Linked DNA regions of Homo sapiens: all the other regions are linked to region 1. The links are contacts of gene promoters, found by promoter capture Hi-C in blood cells and fetal thymus (Javierre and others, 2016). All regions are on one chromosome and are shown on one strand. The core of a region is centred on a gene start or on the middle of the fragment in contact, and the rest is flanking DNA. Distances in the headings are between cores, read along the strand shown.

The links. Contacts are between HindIII fragments. The CHiCAGO score rates a contact against its expected background, and 5 or more counts as called.
Region 2: a fragment that was not itself captured here is called in contact with the fragment with the promoter of TMEM167A in region 1 in 1 of 17 cell types (non-activated CD4 T cells); the score reaches 5.6 in non-activated CD4 T cells.
Region 3: a fragment that was not itself captured here is called in contact with the fragment with the promoter of TMEM167A in region 1 in 1 of 17 cell types (non-activated CD4 T cells); the score reaches 6.8 in non-activated CD4 T cells.
Region 4: a fragment that was not itself captured here is called in contact with the fragment with the promoter of TMEM167A in region 1 in 1 of 17 cell types (activated CD4 T cells); the score reaches 6.2 in activated CD4 T cells.

Annotation. Positions count from the first base shown.
Region 1 is chr5:83,074,975-83,080,067 of GRCh38, forward strand. TMEM167A (transmembrane protein 167A) reads right to left here and starts at 2,420. Exons shown (of 4, transcript NM_174909.5): 1 at 2,347-2,420. The coding sequence starts at 2,349. It overlaps XRCC4 (X-ray repair cross complementing 4), which reads left to right and starts at 2,573. Exons shown (of 8, transcript NM_003401.5): 1 at 2,573-2,641. RefSeq lists enhancers at 1,536-2,501, 2,158-2,427, 2,502-3,467 and a silencer at 2,488-2,577. The HindIII fragment of the contact is 1,765 bases long and covers 1,639-3,403 here.
Region 2 is chr5:90,409,543-90,414,635 of GRCh38, forward strand. CETN3 (centrin 3) reads right to left here and starts at 214. Exons shown (of 5, transcript NM_004365.4): 1 at 103-214. The coding sequence starts at 119. LOC731157 (a long non-coding RNA gene) reads left to right here and starts at 458. Exons shown (of 2, transcript NR_105024.1): 1 at 458-762; 2 at 958-1,127. RefSeq lists an enhancer at 1-183. The HindIII fragment of the contact is 4,211 bases long and covers 305-4,515 here.
Region 3 is chr5:77,028,304-77,033,396 of GRCh38, forward strand. AGGF1 (angiogenic factor with G-patch and FHA domains 1) reads left to right here and starts at 2,101. Exons shown (of 14, transcript NM_018046.5): 1 at 2,101-2,673. The coding sequence starts at 2,464. RefSeq lists enhancers at 1,759-2,338, 1,978-2,327, 2,339-2,918. The HindIII fragment of the contact is 3,112 bases long and covers 1,540-4,651 here.
Region 4 is chr5:88,269,708-88,274,800 of GRCh38, forward strand. It overlaps TMEM161B-DT (TMEM161B divergent transcript), which reads left to right. Exons shown (of 3, transcript NR_039995.1): 2 at 819-878. It also overlaps the pseudogene RNA5SP187. Among named protein-coding and RNA genes, the nearest start is that of TMEM161B-DT, 3.4 kb to the left of the region's middle. The HindIII fragment of the contact is 4,499 bases long and covers 213-4,711 here.

The DNA.
Region 1 (5,093 bases), core at 1,170-3,669:
GGTCAGGCTGGTCTCCAACTCCCGACCTCAGTTGATCTACCCACCTTGGCCTCCCAAAGTGCTGAGATTACAGGCCCAGACTCTTAATGGAGTAATAACTCCAGCTGGCACTGTGACTGTAGAGATTAAAATACCTAGTCTTTAAGAATTCTGCCTAGAGAGGGAGAAATGCAGGCAACACCTTATTGCTGTTTTCTGTGAAAAGGGTTATGCTAGAGGGATACTGGAAGTATACATATGAACTAGGAATATCCCTATAGATACCTAAAGAGAGTAGAAGAAAATAGAAGGGGTTAAGGGAGGCTTTTTGGAAAGAGATGAGACATGAGAGAAATGTTGAAGGATGTTAGGTGTTGGGGGGAACAAGGCATTCTGAAATTCTTTAAAAGTATTAATTCACAAGTGCTACAATTACTGTTCATGCTGACAGTTGTAAATTATTACTGCTGATAAACATTTTATCCTTGAAATGCTTTTTAAAAAGATTCTTGGCTGGGGACGGTGGCTCACGCCTGTAATCCCAGCACTTTGGGAGGCTGAGGTGGGAGGATCACGAGGTCAAGAGATCGAGACCATCTTGGCCAACATGGTGAAACCTCGTCTCTACTAAAAATACAAAAATTAGCCAGGCGTGGTTGTGCACGCCTGTAGTCCCAGCTACTCGGGAGGCTGAGGCAGGAGAATTGCTTGAACCCAGGAAGCAGAGGTTGCAGTGAGCTGAGATTATGCCACTGCACTCCAGCCTGGGCAACAGAGGGAGACTCCATCTCAAAAAAAAAAAAAATCATTAAAATACAGTAATTCAGGTTTATTAAGTCATTACCATTGGGTTACCTCACAAATAAACTAAGTTTAGATGCGAACTCAAAGATACTGAGACACTAATCCATTTCTTAAGCTGCTAAGTTAGCCTTCTTGAAACCTCACTTCGTAGCTCTGCAAACAATGTACTTTTGACATCCCAAGCTCACAGGAATAAAAAACCACCTGCCAGTTGTTTCCGTTTTCCACCTATGTCTAATTTATGTACTTATATTTATAAGAAACAAATCACTAAGTCTTATTTCATCCTTAGTTATGTTGTGTTTCTATCGATAACAGCATGAAGATTTCGGGGACCTGGACATTAAAATAAGTTTGAGTACTGGCTTTACAATCTACTAGGTGTGATCCGAGGCAAGTCAGTCTCTTCATGTTTCACTTCTTTCACTTGTAAACATCTATTCAGAAGTTGCTGTGAACTTGATATTTCCATGCTTATAAACTGATTTTTTGAAAAGAGCCTGGTACATAGGACGTGATAATAAATGAAAGCATTTGCTACTTTTGGAAAAACAAGCATGACAAGATAGTTTATATACTGTTGATCTTAAGCACAGTATATGCATCTTATTTTTAGCTAGTCTGACAGTGAGATAATAAAAAGAGTTATCTTTGACTTGCACTACGAGTAGAAGAATTCAACTTCAGTTTCTAGAAAGATGTATAAGAATTAAGAGTGGCAGTCTTCCTAGTCTCAACTGCCATCTTCCCACCAGGTGGTAAATTCGTCCAGAGAAGAAAATGAATTATTGCTATATGGGATTCTGCAGCAACTTCTGTGAACATAGGCTCATAATTTTTCACCATGGAGACTCAAGCTTTTTGGAGTCATAGTTGTTTTTGGGTCTATTTGCAGGCATGCATCCTTTGTCCAGAAATATACATAACATTTGGCACATGGACCTGGAGGTAAAAGAGGAGGAAGGCCTGAGGCTAGACACCACTCCAATAAGTACATTAAGCTCCTAGAAGGGCAATCCACCTTTGCAGAGAACTCTTAACTATTAAAACCTATAGCTTGTAAAGCAGCATTTTCAAAGTTAAGAGAAGAAGGTGGAAGGGTCTTGAGAGGCTACTGACTAAACAGATGAAAATGAAGGTATGGAGTTTGGTGCCAAAAGAAACTCCCCCCAAAAATCAAACAATAACACCAGAGTAAAGCCCCTAGGGCGAGATAAGGAGTTGCAACAAAACAAGCGGAAACTCGAGAAGCGCTAATGCTTCAAAGGGTCAATGACCACACATAATCTACGTAGCCAACGTGTTAAAACACACCAACGCATTTTTTTTTCCTAAACAAAGTAGGAAAGCGGACTTTGCATGAGGGGCGGGCTGCCGACCCAGCAGTCTTCCTCGGACAGTCCGTCCTGATTCTCTCTGGTTGGCCGTGGAGGGACCACATGGCTCCAAGGCCTCTCAGCTCCGGGCCCACACACCCCGGGCTGCCGCACAAACTCCAGCCCTAGTCTAGATCCACAACCCCTTCTCGAAGATCAACCGCGACCTGGGAGCCCCACTTCTTACCATAGCGAGGCCGGCGATGCCGCAGCCACATCACCCTTCCGGGGCTCAGGCGGAAGAGGCTGCATGTCCCGTCTGCCCTTCTCGCCCTCTCCAGCCGTCCGGTTGGGCTTGTCACGGCACCGCCTACCAAGACGGGCGGTTAAGACACTAGGATAGGCTCCTCTCCACCGGAAAAGGCGGGATTTAGATCACGTCCCGCAGGCCGGCGGAAGTAGCTGATACTCTCATTGGTTGCAAAACCTTGATCTGTGAAAGCGGGCGTTTTGGAAGATACCGGAAGTAGAGTCACGGAGAGGTAGGATCCGGAAGTGGGGCTGCCTCTTTAAATAACAAAAATCTGAGGTTCTGTTCTTTTTATCTTTTTGCTTTCTTTTTAAAAAAGTTCCCTGCTACTTACCCCTAGAACTCCACAATGCGAGAATCCCCCTCAATTTGTGAGCTCCCGCGACTTCCTCTTGTGGGCTTTTGGGGATGCTAGGGTTCTCGGCATTATCCTCAGGGTGCGACCTGTTCACCCCCTTTTCAGTTTCTCCGTTTGCATCTGAGGGATTCTTGGGAATGCGAAGCACTTTTGAAATGCTCTGTGTTGGTTGTGGGATTGGGAGGACGGTTGAATCCAGAGGGTAGTGTTGAGTAGGCTGTTTGAGCATTTCCCCAGCACTGGCCTGTCCTTTCAATCCCCAGATATTGGTAAACTGTGGGTTCCAACCAGGCATCGAGGCTGAAACGTACTAGGCAATTTGAGGTCAGGAAAGAACTTTCTGTGGTAACCAATGGGAAGGAACTGCCGTTTGCGGACTGCAGCGATTGATTAGGTACTTTAAAGAGATCAACTGGCAAGACAAATGACAAGGCAACTTTTAATCAGTAGTAGTATTTAGCTTTTTCTGATTTTAATTATCCCATTAGGTGAGGTTCTACTACACACACACGTTTTTCTTTCTGCATTTTATCGATGGAGAAACAGGCGCTTTGACATGTTTGAATTTGCGTAGTTCTTGGAATTCTAATAAAGTATTAGAAATGAGAGTTTTTCACTCTTTGCCCCCTTATGGCAAGCTTTTGGTTCTAAATGTGTGGTGTATTTTTTCTCAGGCAGGAGAGAGTTCTTTTCAGAATGTTTTCAATTTTTTATGGACTTAGAAGGTGGATAGAGAGAAAGAGAGAAGGTAACTCACGTGAGATTTTGGTTTATGAACTGTATTCGGCCTATGAGACCCTTTTGTATTTAGGGCAACACAATGATTAGAAGATTTGGGATTCTGCTATTTGTGTTTACATTGTTCACTAGGGCACACAAAGGTTTTGTTTTAAACTATAACTAACTTGATATTTGAGTCTGTTATATTGAATTGTCAAGAGTTGGTCAAATACACAAATTAGCAAGTATTTACTGGGTGCCTGCTTTATTCATGGATCTTCAGATTGCAGCATAGGAACAAAGATGGTCTGTTCCTTTAAGGAATTTAATAAGGTTGGGGGAGAGGGGAATAAGAAAGGTATTTAAAAGATACAGTACTCTCCACCTAAGGATAAAAAAAGTCTTTTAATGTTCTGTCTTGTAATTCCTTTATATTATACCTTTTAGGTCTTGCCATTCAAATTAAACAAACCTGGTTTAGTTATGGAAATTATGTTGTGCAATTTATCGAGCTTGGCTTTTAGGGCAGTAAATGTGTCTGTAGACATAACTGCCCTTGGTTTCATGTGAAGATTGTCTTGATCTTTGTTACATATAAAGGTAATACTTCTGTATGAAGCTCTGCTTCAGGCTACCTGTGAAAAGCATCAGAAAGCTTAACTTGTTAGAGATCACAATTGATTTGCTATATCTATATATTTTAATTAATTTTAGGCTATGACTTCTTATGTACCTGAGCTTCAAAACAGTAAAGAACGGCATTGCCAGTTTTTAAGTTATCTATAGAGAAACACATATGCCAATAAATGAGGCTGAACAAATATGTATAATGTTTATTGCATTTATGTAAAACATCAAAGTTAATCTGACGTGGTGAGTTTTTTTTGGGAGGTGGTAGTTTAGCTCCATTGTCTTACATAAACCCCCTACTTTTTGGTTTTCAGATTATATCACAATTTCTAAAATCTTTCTGGCAGCTTTGCAGTGAATCCTCATTTAAAACCATCTTGGATCCTTTCCTTACTAGAAATAAAATCTGTCTGTGTTATTCCTTTGTTCAAAAATTATTATTTATTTTTATTTTTGAGACAGGATCTTGCTCTGTTGCCCAGGGTGGAGTGCAGTGGCACAATCATGACTCACTGCAGCCTCAACCTCCAGGGCAGAAGCGATCTATCCTCCTCCCTCAGTATCCCCAGTAACCGGGACCATGGTTGCATGCCACCATACTTGGCTAATTTTATTTTATTTTTTGTAGAGACAGGGCTCACTATGTTGCCTAGGCTGGTCTCAAACTCCTGGGCTCAAGTGATCCTCCCGCCTCGGCCTCCCAAAGTGCTGGGATTACAGGTGTAGGCCACCGCACCACGTCTGGCCTGTTCAAAAAGTATTATCTCACCTGCATCTGGAAGAATATTTCCAACTTTGGTTTCATGGGTATATTAAAATCGTATGTAAAAATAGTGGATATTTGTAGTTTTCTGTGGCGCCAGTGCACAGGTGTCCTCAGTGTTATGAGGATTACATGAGTTATTACAAGTAAATCATCTAGGCAAATGTTTGGCATACAGTAAGCACTCAGAAAGTGTTGGCTATTACTGTGCAT
Region 2 (5,093 bases), core at 1,160-3,659, 7.3 Mb after region 1:
TCCCCTGCCTCGCCTCGGCCCCAAACGTCCTCCCTTCCACACACACCCTCCCTGGGCCCCGCTCCGGGGTGTGGAGAGCACTGCCGCCTCCTTATTACCGACCTCAGAGCTAAACTCATTATCTCTTCGCACAGAGACGTTCCTCTCAAGAACGATTTTAACCCCCTACCCAAGGCAGCAAGACGCCCACAGCCGTTCAACAGACACGAACGACCTCAGCGGCCTCAGGGACCTCCCACAACATAGACACTTTTGAGCTGGATTGGTTGAAATGTCGCTATGGTTCTGCCTATTAGGGGGCGGAAGCTTTACCAGTTCTATTTTCATTGGGTAGGTTTTACGTCAATCAAGGAAAAAAAAATTTTTTTTCTGTGCCCCGCCCACCTCCTAACGCCCCCCCGCCCCCCCAATCTAGGGCCGCTCTCGCCCTTCGGATTGGCTCGATGCGTTTTTCCCCGAATCCTTTGCGGGTCCGGCCTCCGATCCCTGTGTGGCTGTTTGGCGGGTGGGCGCTGTGTTCCTCTCTCGTAAAGCCGTGCGGTCTGTGGGCCGCCATTCAGAAACTGGATGGACAGCTTCGGCGGTGGGAAGGGAAGGGACATGCTGCAGGCCACCCTCCGGCTAGAAGGAGGGAGTACTTGAGGAACAAGGTCTGCGAAAATTGGCTGTGCTCTGTTCTAAAACTTGGAATGGCCTCAGTACCTGGGGAATGTGTTTAAAATGCAGACTTAAATGTCCGTTTCTCCATTCTAATTTCAGTAGGTATGAATCTGCGTTTTTACTCCTCACAAGCCTTCCAAGTGATTCTGAGGCAGGTGCTGTGGCTGTACTTGGATTATCACAGGGTTAGATTATCAGGCTATTTATGATTTAGCTGTATCTAAACCACCTTTCCCTCTCTTTCCTCCTTTGAACTGTTTGAAACGGATTTGTTCCCTTCTGTCTCTTATTTTTCAGTGCTGTAAGCTGTTAACACACATGAGACTGTCTTCACTACCAAACCAAGTCTCCTAAAGCTCACTTGAATGTCTGCTTATTCGTGTCTCTTACTAGGTTCAATTTCTTGGAGGCCGTGATTATATCTATTTAACGCTTTTCCTTGTACCTAATAAAATGTCTGGTGCGTAGGTGCTCGGTAAATTGAGTGGAATCTTTTGAAAATCCACAAAATACTGAGCTAAACAGCAAATCTCATAAACGTGAATAAAATAGCCTGAGGATGGGAGTTGAAGGCGGAGAATATATAAACATTATATGTTTAAGGGATGTATATAAAATTTTAGAGAAGGGAGAGAACACAAGATATGCTTCTTAAAGGAGGTGACATAAACGTTAGACCTAGAAGGATGGGCTAAATTTGCACAAGGAAAGATAGTATGATAGAATAAGCTAAAAATTAGCTAAGGGATAGCACCCCTAAAAAACAAAAGTGGAACTTTTATTTTGTTCGTATTTTAAATTTTAAAGTACCTTTATAAATCACCTTTGAGTCTAAAAGGAAAGAGAAATTGTAGTTACTAGAACATAATGATATTGAAAAAAACTATATGTTAAAATTTTAAGATACAGACCAAGTTATAGGAGAACATTATTTTAAATAAGAAAGAATAAAAATAGGCCAAGCATTTATTTGAAGATGTTAGAAACGAAGAACAAATTGTATAATTGAAATTAGGAAGAGGAAATTAGTAAAGATAAAGTTTGAGAACAGTGTTTTAAAAGGAAATTGGTAAAATTGATAAAGTACTCATAATCTAGTATAAAGCTGGTTTTTGGCAATACCAGTGAAATTCAAAGACTTATAGGAAGTGTAACAAGAAAAGGAATAGTGCCACTAGTAAGGTTGGTAATTTAATAAAAGGGAGGTTTAAAAATTATTAAAATATTTTATACAATTTTATACCGCCAATAAATATTAATAGAAAATGAAATAGTCACTTTTCAAGGAAAACATAACTCAAAAAAGGTGGAAAACTGAATTAAGTCAATAACTACAGACAGGACTGGAACAAAGATGCCAAAGTTCTGTACTCACAAATAAAAAGCCTCCAGCCCACTCAGATTTATGATTAAAAATCATAAGAGCTAAATCTTGTGCTTTAAACTCAAGTCATAGAAAATGATGGAGAGCTTCTTAGCTTAATTTTTGAAGCTGCCATAATCTTTCACATCCTAAAAGAACATTTAAAGTCACTCAGTGTAAGCTCAGTGATGATGAAGGCTATGCATGTTTCTCACCATTGTATCCCCAGTGCCTGACTCATGTTTGATGTTCATTTGTGAACTTAAGTGCAAAATTCCTAGATGTTAGCAAAGTCAGTTTGATACTGTCTTAAAGGAACATTTCTCTATAACTAAATTGAGTTTTTTTTTGTTAAGTGCAAAGATAATTCAAAATATAAATCTGTGTTAAATAATTATAATGTTAGGTTAAGGAAATCATCTCAGTGTCAAAAAGGCACTGAATAATAGGTAACACCTTTTCTATTAGGATATAAAGTGGGTTTAGAAAATACTTTTTTAAATATGATCGGCAGAATACTTAAACACCAGTGTTTCTCAAACCTCATTCCTGAAACACTAGGATTTTGTGAGATGCTTTTGGTCTCAGAGTGCGTTTTATAAGCAAATAATTTGGGCAAACAGATTTTAAAAGGTTTTCAATAGGGTGTCCTTTTAAGAGAGTGACAGGGAATTTACACGCATCACTTTTATTATATTTAATTAGTGAGAACTAGTGACAACCACTTCTTGCTTCACGGGAGGTTGAGGCAAGAAATCTCTAGATGGAAAACTGCTCTGCTGAAACTTGGGGTCTAATCATCTATTACTAAAGATAAGACAGGTGGTTACACTAATTATATTTTAAACCTAAATTTGATGCAATCAAAATTCTCATATTTTTCTTGAATTGAACAAAGGTATTCCAAAGACCATCTCAACAACAATTCTATAAAAATAACTTACTAAACTGTGAAAAAGAATAATAATACAAAAATTGCTGTATGGGACACTAAAATGTATTTGGTACAATGGTAATCAGACCAGAAATTCCAGAGACAGCCAAATGTAAATAAAAATGTCTGCTTTGAAAAGGTAGTGACATAAATATTTGTTTAGTCTGCCTCCTAAAGCCTTAATAAATCAAGAGTTCCTCTATCACCCACGCTGGAGTGCAGTGGCATAACTCACTGTAACCTCAAACTCCTGGGCTCAAAGGATCCTCCCGCCTCAGCTCCTGAAAAGTTAGGACTACAGAAGCATGCCACCATGCTCAGCTAATTTTTTTTAAATTTTACACTGTGTTGCTGTGTTGCCCAGGCTGGTCTAGAACTCCTGGTCTCAAGTGACCCTCCAGCCTCAGGCTCCCAGAGTGTTGAGATTACAGGAATTAGCTCCCATGCCTAGCCAATAAATTAATTTCTAAAGCTGAAGTGACCTGGAGAGGGACCATCAGCAGACTAGGTATTTAAAAAATTATTGGAAAGATCAAAAGAAATATGGAAACTTGTTGACAAATGAAACAGATCACTGAAGTGGCATCCTATAATTTTCCAGAGATGACTTATGTTTCACAGAGAGTTGATCTACCTAGCAAAGTCCCAGAGAGACTCCAGGAATAGAGTTCCCTTGTACAGTAGAAGGTGGAAATGAGAAGGGGGCTAAAAACAAAATGTCAATTTAAAACCTCTTTAGGAAACCACTGTACTTCAGTTCCTCCAGATTCCTCTCCCCAGTGTTTTGTCTCTTTACATCTATCTAGAACTCCACTCTTTTTTTTTTCCTTTTTTTAGAGACGGGGGTTCTCTCTGTTGCCCAGGCTGGAGGGCAATGACATGGCCTTAGATCATAGCTCACTGCAACCTCAACCTCCTGGGCTCAAGCAACCTCCCACCTTGCGCCTTGGCCTCCTGAAGTGCTGGGATTACAAACGTGAGCTACGGCACGTGGCCTGAGTCTTTAAAATGAATGAAGAATGAAAAACCATCAGAGATATGAAAATCAACAGCATGAAAGATAAAACTAAAAACCATTTCAGGAAGACTCTGAGTCAGCTAAGGAACCAAAATAAAATAATAAGAAATTAATAATAATAAGCTGCCTAAGAAGTACTCAAGAAAATATTAGAGAACAGAATACTCTGAAAAAGGAGCATTGGAGAATAAGAAAAGACTGTTGAAAATAAACATGAATGTAAAAATTAAACTGGCAAGATGATTTAATTGAAAAAATATCACAAAACTTGCAGTATTCAAACAAAAACATGGAGAATTTTGAGAAAAAAATGGAGGACTAATTCATTATTTGACTAATAAGAATTTCTGAAAGAGAGAACAAGAGGAGGAGGAGAAAAATATCACACATTGAAAAGATACTTCGAGGAACTGAAGATAAATACAGGTCTCCAAATTGATAGAACACATTTAGTACTGAGCAAAATAATAGTAAAAGAACCACACCTAGACACATAAAGAAGCCATTTCAGAGCATCAAAAATAAAGAAAAAGGCCTAAAAGCTTCCAGTCACAAGAATCTGACCTTTTATAAAAGAATTTAAGAATTGAGCTAGTATCAGATTTCTCATCAGAAACTTTAGATACCGAAAGATAATACCTTCAAAATTGTAAGTGAAAATTATTTTGAACTTAGAATTCTATTTCCTGTCAGAACAAAACTCAATTATGAGTACATAATAAAGATTTCAGAAAGTTCAATTATCATATACTCTTTCTGAAATATGTACTCCAGAAAAGTAAGAATGAAATCCAAAAATAAGATAGATGTAAAATACAAGAGTGTGGCAGATAGAATGACCCATCGAAGATGTCCATGTCCTAATCCTTGAAATTTGTTAATGTTACACTGCATGGAAAAAGGAACTTTGTAAGTGTAATTAAGGTTATTAACCTTAAAATAGGGAGTTTATCCTGGATTATCCAGTGGGCTCAGTCTAATCATGTGAGTCCTAAAAATCAGAGAACTTCTTCCACTTAGAGGCAGAAAAAATGAAGCAGGAGAGGTTAGAGAGATTTAAAGTATAAGAACTCTGGCCGGGCATGATAACTCATGCCTGTAATCCCATCACCTTGAGA
Region 3 (5,093 bases), core at 1,846-4,345, 6.0 Mb before region 1:
GCACACCAAGCCACACAAGGCAATGTGGAGAAGCACCAAGGTCCAAAGGAGGCAGAAGGAGTGGGAGGAAACATGGCAAAAAACATTATGTGATTTTTGCAGGAAGGAATGGACAAATCAGGATAAGCAGGTTTAGTTTGCATAATTTCAGTGGGATCTGAGATGTAGGAGTTGTTCCTAGTTGTCTGGTACTTTGCCCTGGAGTGATTAGGGCAGGGGAATATTGGCATGGAGTGTAACAGCCTGATAAAGAAGGTAGATGATCAGTGTGTGGCATGCTGGGTGAGTTGTTTGCTATGTCTAGGAATTAGCTAACCCTTGGAGGGGTTATCTCCCTGGTCAGGGAGACCCCAGATGCCAGAGCATCAAGAATACAAAAAATAAGAAAATATAGTTAATGGAAGTGGCCACTGATCTAAGACACCAAACAGGATTCTCTTGTTCAGCTGTGTTCAGCATTTACGGATACTGCTCTGCGACAGGCACTGTGCTGGGCCCTGAGAGAGGAGCATCTGCATGACACAGCTGCTGACCTCCACAAATCTCAGGCCCAGGACTCTGAGCTCATGATCTAATTCTAAATGACTTTGGCAAAGGAAGGAAGTGTGTTCCAAAGAAGGCCACATCAGTTTAAATATTGGCAAACCAATGCCAGGGTCATGCAGACAAAAGACCAAATAAATGCACCAAACCAGAGCATTTTTCTCCCCTTTTCCACAGAATATTGTCTCTCTCTTATTTTCCCACCAGGGATGCTCCTTTTTGCGACTCAGACCTAATGTACTTGCTCTATTTTCCCGGGGGGTCTAAACTCAGGAACCAGAAGAATGACTAAATGAGAAATAAAAGTAAAATTCTGAGCCCCTGAACTGACTGAATAGACCCATTGTTCACTACATAGAAAGCCAGTCATTGAGACAAGGAGTATTGCCAGGGAAGAAGGTTCTATTTGGGTGCTGCAGCCAAGGAGAATAGGAAATCAGTCTCAAATCCATCTCCTCAACCAACTAAAATTAGAGGTTTATATGGCAAGGGAGAAATGTGACTACATGTGAGAAAACAGGAATTAGTGAGCGGTAAGGATGAGGACTTGTTCAACAGGCAGCAGGTGGCTGGTTAGGCAATCATGATGGGTGAGGGGTATGGTGCCTCATTGTCCAGATGCAGTGATCTGGTAAGTTTCAATTCCTTGATACTATCTGGGAGGCCTCATGGTTGGTTTCCCAAGAAAGGAACTCAGATAAGAAAGATGTAACTTTCTGAAGTTTTAAGACTGGGAGGGTAAATTTCCAGGTTTATTCAAAAGAAACCATAAACATCAGTTCTATAGGACAGTTGGGCTGATTTCACACCAACCAGCATTCCTTCCTGATAAGAGACCACCAACCACAGAGAAGTTCTGGCCAATCTACCAGGGACTCACAGCGAGGGTTTTCATGTCCTCTGCTTTGCCATTTGACATCAGAGGGCTGAAAACTTCACACTGGGATCATGCTAACACCACCATTTTTTGAATATGGGTCCCATAGAGAGGCAGGAAGCTTAATTGTGCATGTGCATATTTCTCCTTTCATAAATATTCATGAATCCTCCTACAGCTCATTGAATATATTTGGCCACCCTGCTCAGCATAAATTTCTGTTCCCTTTGTCCTTCCTTCCAAGTGTCTGTTCTCAGCTTCTGACCAGAGGCTATGCTTCCAAGCCTGTCAGAAAGGCCACCCTGCAGGCTGTAACCCTTCATGAGAAATAAAGCCCTTTTCTAAATTTATTAACCTCCTCATTCTTCAGTTGACATAAGTAGAGCATCATAGTCCCCACAAATCATTTCTGGGATACTCTGTTCTTATTTGTAAAACAAGGAGATAGGAAATGCATGCTATACTAAAAGTTTGTTCAAAGAACATCCGCACGTGCAAATGTCTGAGACCAGAGGCTGCAAGCCTCCCTGTCGCTCTTAGGGCTTCGGTAGCCACATTGCCACAGCTCTCCACGCCCTCAGGTAACGCCCCTCCGCAGGCCGAGACGTCGGCACGTACACTGTCAGGTCTTCCCGCTTTCCGTCGCTTCCTGTTCCGTCTTGGTCCCGCCTGCCGCTGGCGCCGTTGTTTCCGGCTCAACTGGGGAGCTGCTGGAGCTCTTCTGGCCTCTGGTTTTCCGACTGCTTATCCGACGCTCCTCCCTCTGTCTCTGTAGCTGGAGAAGGTAGTTTCCAGGAAAGTTTTCCGGTTTGCAGGCCGCGCACATCGGGCAGGGGCCATCCTCGGTCCCCTTGCTCGTTGCTCGCAGCCCCGTTCGGCTACAAGTGAGTTTCAGGGCGTCATGGCCAGGGGCCACCGCGGCCAGCCGGGTGTGAGGCTGCCTTTCGCTGCCCGCGCGCTCCAGTGGTCTCTGGGTCCGCCGGCGTCCGTTTCGGCCTGAACGCAGCCCCTCCGCGGCGACGAGCAGTCTCGCGCCGGAGCTCATGGCCTCGGAGGCGCCGTCCCCGCCGCGGTCGCCGCCGCCGCCCACCTCCCCCGAGCCTGAGCTGGCCCAGCTAAGGCGGAAGGTGGAGAAGTTGGAACGTGAACTGCGGAGCTGCAAGCGGCAGGTGCGGGAGATCGAGAAGCTGCTGCATCACACAGAACGGCTGTACCAGAACGCAGAAAGCAACAACCAGGAGCTCCGCACGCAGGTGCGCGGTCCTCCTCAGCCCCGCGCCCCATCCAGCCCAGGCGAGGCCTTCGAAGCCCGTGATAGCCTCGGAAGGGGTCCCTGGCAGGGGCTCAGAACTACTGTAGAGTACTTAAAGTAAATAAGTAGAAGCTCAGCGCAGTTACAATTCCAAGTACCTTAGGAGCAAACCTGAGTTCAGGTTACTTGATTTAAATCAATGTCTCGCGGCTGGCGTGAATTGAACTTAAGTACTGTGGCTACATTGTCTTCATTCTCACTTGACCTAACATCCCATTGGCAGTAGGCGCATTTACTGTAGATCACATTTGAGTTTATTAAAATGCTGGACTTGAGTCAGAATCCCATCTCTGCTATTCACTGGGTGTGTGAACTTATATACCGAGTCTCAGTTCCCCATTAAATGAGAATGATAGCTCACAGTAGTAAAGGTGAAGTAAAACAAACAATTTTACAAACTTTTGAATGCTATACCTGTTTAAGGTTGCTCTTCTGGGCGTTTATCATCTTCGGCTTTCTTGTGTAAGTAGGGACGATATATAACTGCTTTTGTTGGAGACGTTAAGCAGCTTATTTCGTTTCCAAGATGGTAGGGGCAAATGTTAATACTTAAACTGTCACATTAAAAACAACCTTGGCTGGACGCGGTAGCTCACGCCTGTAATCCCAGCACTTTGGGAGGCCGAGGCGGGCAGATCACCAGGTCAGGAGTTCGAGAGCAGTCTGGCCAGCATGGTGAAATACAAAATTTAGCCGGGCGTCTCTACTAAATACAAAAATTAGCCGGGCGTGGCGGCGGGCACCTGGAATCGCAGCTAGTCGGGAGGCTGAGGCAGGAGAATTGCTTGAACCTAGGTGGTGGAGGTTGCAGTGAGCCGAGATCGTGCCACTGCACTCCAGCCAGGGCGACAGAGTGCAACTCTGTCTCAAAATAAAAACCAAAAAACCAAGAGCATAGTATTTTTTTCTACCTTGTTGGCAGGCCCTCTCTGCCAACAGATTATTTCCACATAGTAACTAGTTTCAATTTGACCGTTGTCTAGTCCTTCATAATTTATTGGTGGTTTCCTAAAACCAGTATATAGGCTGAACACTGAAACGTCATCAGACTTCTTTGTTTTGTTACCAAATGGACTATGAAAATAACTGTTGAGTTGCAATGACTTTGTATGACCATTACATGGAGTTCCTGACATGACATTATTGGAAAGTTTTTGTTTAGTCAATTTAAACACCTACGGTGTGTAATAACTATGCTAGGAAAATACAAATATGGTAAAAAAAAAAAAAAAAAAAAAACAGGGAGAGGTGGCTGGGCGCGGTGGCTCACGCCTGTAATCCTAGCACTTTGGGAGGCCGAGGCGGGCGAATCACGAGGTCAGAAGATCGAGACCATCCTGGCTAACACAGTAAAACCCTGTCTCTAGTAAAAATACAAAAAAAATTAGCCGAGCGTGGTGGCGGGCGCCTGTAGTCCCAGCTACAGGCTGAGGCAGGAGAATGGCGTGAACCCGGGAGGCGGAGCTTGCAGTGAGCCGAGATTGCGCCACTGCACTCCAGCCTGGGCGACAAAGCAAGACTCCGTCTCAAAAAAAAAAAAAAAAAAAAAAATGGGGAGACGGGAGCAAAATATAACAGCCTTTTTTACATGACAGCCTTTTGAAAAGCTCCTTTATAATTCTAAATTGTTGAAGTACTGCTTGCGTTAGAGATTCTAAAAGAAAACGTTTTTTGCTAATCTTCAGAGAGCCAGCATTTTGGTGTTACTGTTAATTTGATAAATCAGACTAAATGATGGGACTTTGTGAACAGATCCTTTATTTCTTACAGAAAAGAATGTTTTTATGCTAATATTTTGAGAGGTCAGCAATTCTCCCTAAAGAATTAGAAAATTTAAGAGCTATCAATTCCCATTCATGTTATCTAATATCATTCAATGTTCACGTGGATTTAGTTATTAAATGTTAATGCCTCTTATAAGCTTTAATACACTTTAAAAAAATAGTAGTTCTGTGACTAAACTGCAGCAGAAGCGAACAGAAGGTAATTGCCTGAGAGGATCATCTGTCCTCCACATGCCTCCATTTTAGTCCAATATTAAAAATTTAATCTCATAGAAAGTCTTGACTCTACTTTGAATAGTGATAACTCCTTACTCTCCTAGTCAGCCTCCCTTGGTTGGGGAGAGGGTGGATTCGATTAACTGTCATTCCAAATTACTGAATGTGTTTTATTTGGAGCAGTTAAAAAGTTTTGCTTGAGAATGATAACTGGAGAACCATAATATGTATAGGGTTTGTACAAGACCCCAAAATAGCCTTGTGCAAATTACTTTGTCTTGTCTGATATTTTATGTGTAAAATTGGGGTTAGGACAACGAATATTTCAGGTGGTTTTGTGAATTAATGAGATGTTATCTAA
Region 4 (5,093 bases), core at 1,212-3,711, 5.2 Mb after region 1:
CTGCCAGTCTTGGCCCCCGTCAGGCAGCGGTTCACTCCCTCACCAGGGAAGTCTAGATAGATAGATATAGATAGATATCGATCGATAGATATAGATATATATATAGATAGATAGATAGGTAGATATATGGATAGATATAGATATTTGGATAGATATGTAGACGTCTATCTATAAATATATCGATATATCGGGGTTCTCAGCCATCCCAAAGAAGCTTGCACAGGGCCAGTTGCTTTATGTCAGGAAAAGGGACACAGACTGAGTGTATGAGGGTTTTTTTTTTCTATAGATGTATAGATATTTATATCAGATGCAAATAAGTGAAACTCTCATACAACTTTTAATTTTGTGTTTTTTCCAAACTCTATTCCATTCAACTTTTTCTGCCTTTTTATTTGATTATAATGAGACATCGTACTGGAGGCAGGCTTGAAATGGATATACAGAGCACTTTCAACCCAGAAATTTGTCTCACGACTTGGGGTCCTTACTTAAGTTGTAGCTGTTAGTAATTTCATCCATGAATTCACTTTGTGCCATAGTGTGATGTTTTGTTATGAAGTTGGAATTGGGAAGGGAAACTAGGAAGTTTTGGGAGAAGTTAAGAAGGTTGAGTAGGCAGGCGTTGTTATAGATATTAAATTTCACCCTGCTTATCAAAGTACCTGGAGCGTATGGTATCCAAGCTGTAAATGGCCCAAAGGAATCGGGGTTCTCAGCCATCCAAAAGAAGCATGCACAGGGCCAGTTATTTTATGTCAGGAAAGGGGACACAGACTGAGTGTATGAGGGTTTTTTTTTTTGTTTTTTTTTTTTAGTTTAAACTTGATTTTGTGAGGGGACGAACAGCGTGACAATTAAAAGAAGATCTGGGAATCGTAAGTACTGACAGAATACCTGGAGGGAAGGTGGGACTGGAGAATAGTTTGTGAAACAGATCCTGCTGAGGATGAATCCAGAACTTCCTGAAGGGTTCCGCTTCTGCTGTGTAGGGACAAGGTTGTAAATAGACAAGCCACAGGCACCTGCAAATGGTAAGTGTGGTAGAGAGGGGCTGGAATTGCCTGTTGGTGTATCTGTGGGAAGCAGCTGCTATCCTTGAGGAAGAAAAGATGGAGAAGGTAAGTGGCTATCAACCTGTCAGAGACAACACATTCTGTGAAGTTGTACTCTTTCATTTCTGACACTGTGGTTCTTAATATCTGTCCTAAACCTGGCAGTCATTGAGGTTCGCAAAGTATCTCCTTCTATGTGACAGTAAAACTGGAATTACTATCAGAATGGAATCCATTCCTGCTAGAGTAAAACCATGAAAAGAAATCGCAGTTTTGATTATCTGCTTATCATTTTTAATAGATCACAGAGTGCAGTGTTCCTTATTTGTTGTATGGCAAGTTGATGAATAACTCTTGATTAATATCTTTTAATGTTCTGTTTCACACAGTTCTCTCAATTACATGTGAAAAATCTGTTATATAAGTAATGCTATTTAATGATTAAAATGGATATATGTTTTAAGGTAGTGCCACCCAGTCTTTTTTTTTTGGTAGAATAATATTATTATCTATTGGTTGCCTGCCTTGAAGTACAGTAATTTCTCTGTTTCCATTATTTAAAATAGGTGAGTGTCTTTGACAAAGATACAAAGAAAGGGGACAGTTATGAAAGGGAAGAAAAGATAGATGGAGATGAAAAGAAATTCAGTAGTTTCAGCAAGGGAATTAGGAGCATAATCTTTGAGAAAAGTCTTGGTTGCTTACCATTCGGGCTTTGTGATGAGTTGAAATGTCCTGAATGAGAACTGTTCTCAAATGCTTTCAAGACCAACAAAAAGTACGATACCCACACTGACCTGGAACTCTTTAAACCATTAAGATATATCACTTTTTCGCAGTTCAGTCCATATTTTTTGCAAAATGTTCTGCTTAGTTTTTCTGCTAAGAAATTACTGTTTCTGAACAAGGTTAAGTGTCGTATGCTTTCATTGTAGTTTTTTTTCCCCTAACATATACTGTTTTCCTAATTAGACTATAAATTCCTCCACAGCTGGGACCTTGTTTTGTTTTCTCGCCTTCCCCATAACAAATATCATTTAAGTGAATGTTGTAAACAGTTACTTCATTTAAATTGCCCTTAAAATGCTTTATGACAAAGACGTTATTTGTAGTAATACCTATAATGGTAAAAAGTTTGTTGCAGTCTTACAGACGATAAGATTGATCAATTGTTATATATGCTTAGTGGAATTTTATCTAGCTGTTCTAAAGAGCCATTAGACTAGTCTTTCTAATGGAAAATGTTTATTGTCTAAGTTAAAACAGCATTTGAGGCCAGGCACAGTGGCTCACTCCTGTTATTGCAGCACTATGGGAGGCTGAGGTGGGAGGATCACTAGAGCACAAGAGTTGGAGACTAGCCTAGGCAATATAGTGAGACCTCTTCTCTACAAAAAATTTAAAAATTAGCTGAGTGTGATGGGGTGTGCCCGTAGTTCCAGCTACTCAGGAGACTGAGGTGGGAGGATCACTTGGGTCCAAGAGGTAGATGTTGCAGTAAACCAAGATCATGCCACTGCACTGCAGCCTGGGCAACAGAGCAAGATCCTGTCTCAAAAAATTAAAAAGCATTTTATAGACTGCATGTTTGTGTCCCCCCTCCCTCCGCACCAGAATTCATATATTGAAGCCTTAATCTCCAATGACATGATATTAGTAGGTGGGGCCTTTGGGGGGTGATTAAATAATAAGGGTGAAGCCCTGCATGGGATTAGTGCCTTTACAACAAGAGACCCTAGACAGCTTGCTTCCACTCTTTCTTTGCTCTTCACCATGTGAGGACACAGCAAGAAAACAGACAACTACAAATCAGGAAGAGGGCCTAATTTGTGCCAACCATGCTGGCACTCTTCTCTAACTTCCCAGCCTCCAGAACTGTGAGAAATAAATTTCTGTTGTTTAAGTCACCCAGTTTATGGTAGTTTGGTTATAGTTGCCCATATTAAGACAGCAGGATGCAAAATTGTGGCCAGTATGATTGCTTTGACATGAAACAAATTTTAAGCACAAATTGCAAAAAGTAACCAAAATATATCAATCCCCACTGCTGGCATTAACACTCTAAAACAAACTTTGTATATTGGGGGATTTTATTTATTTATTTATTTATTTTTTTTGCTGACCATAGTGACTCATGCCTATAATCCCAGCACTTTGGGAGGCCGAGTTGGGCAGATCACTTGAGGCCAGGAATTCAAGACCAGCCTGGCCAACATGGCAAAACCCCCTCTTTACAAAAATATAAAAATTAACCAGGCATGGTGGCACACCCCTGTAGCCCCACCTACTTGGGAGGCTGAGGTGGGAGGATCGCTTGGGCCTGTGAAGCAGAGGTTGCGGAGAGCTGTGATGGCACCACTGCACTCCAGCCTGTGTGACAGAGCGAGACTATCTCAAGAAAAAAAAAAAAGGATGAGGATTTTTTTTGTTTTCAACATGCTTTTTAACATCCACTATATTACTCTCATCTTTCTAGGCTGGAAAAAAAAATGTTTTAAATGTTATTCTGAAGTATATTGCAACCTTTAACAATTCAGTAGACTTCTGAATTTTTATTTTCATGTAGCTTACCACAGTTGTATCTAGGAATATATCACATAGCTGATTAATTGGTGAAATAACCCTTGCAATTTTACACAGGTTGTACAGTGCACATTTTCAAGGACCACTCACATACATCCATTTGATATTTTTTGGTATCAAGAAAGTCTTTAAACAATCAGTACCACCAATAGCAGTAAAAAGACAAAACTGTCTGAAAGTACCTATCTGTTTAAAACTTTAATTAGCTTTATCCATCCATTAAATAGTTATTGAATATAAAACTGTATCATTCACTCTTCTACACTCTGAGGAAATAGTGGTAAATAAAGCAGATATTGTCCCTACTATCAGGAAATTTACATTTTAGTAGTAATAAGCCATAAATTAACAAAAACAGAAGACAGTGGTAAGTACTAGGCATGAAATTCAAACATGACTATTTTAGATTAGGTGATTAAAGAAACTAAAATACCATTTAAGCTGCTGTGTAAATGACAAGAGAATCCAGCTTTGTAAAAATTGGTGAACCCTTTGCTTGCAGAAGGGACAACTGCAAAATCTAAGGCATGATCTAGCCTGGAATATTTCAGGAGCCAAAAGAAGGCCTGCATGGTTAGAGAATAGTGACTTAAGACGCAAATACTGTAACTTTGGAGGGATAGGAAAGGGCTAGATCATGTTACCTTTGAAAGACAGGAAAGAGTTTAGATTTTATTCTATGTGCAATGGAAAAAAAAATGAGAGCATTTTAATCCAAAGAGTAATATAAGATAATATATTTTTAAAATCCACTTTGGTAATTTGTTAATTGGCATAAAGAGTCAGCTTTCATGTAACATAATTACTAACATACTTGGATTTAAATTTGTCATTATTCTTATTTTATTTGTCCCACCTCTTATATGTTCATTTTGTCTTCTTTTGCCTTTTTGATTTTTTTTTTTCTTAATTAGGCCATAGCACCTGATATTCCCAGGCAGACTCTCATCCAAGTGCCAATCAGCCCCAGCCCTGCTTAGCTTCCCAGATCAGATGAGAACAGGCATATTCAGGGTGGTATGGCTATAGACCTTTTAGATTATTTTTAATTATTCCATTTTTTCTACCTCATAAGCTTGACAGATGTCTTTTAGTATCTTTTTACTGTTCACCTCAGGTATTAAAACATGGAACCTTGGTTTATCATCTTTAAGATAATTTGGTATTATACTTCTTCCAGGACAATGTAAGGACCTGCGAACACATCAACTTCATTTACTGCCACACCTCATGTTATATACATTGTATATTCTTAATATGTATTTCCTAAATTCTCAAGACATTTTTTATACAATATGAATTTACATTTCATATTGTATAAAACATTTACTTTTTCTATTGTGTTTCGTGGTTCCTGGAATCTGAGCTTCCATCTAAGACCTTATTTCTTCTTGAAGGACATACTTTAATATTTCTTCGAATATCTACTGGTAACAATTCATTCAGATTTTCTGT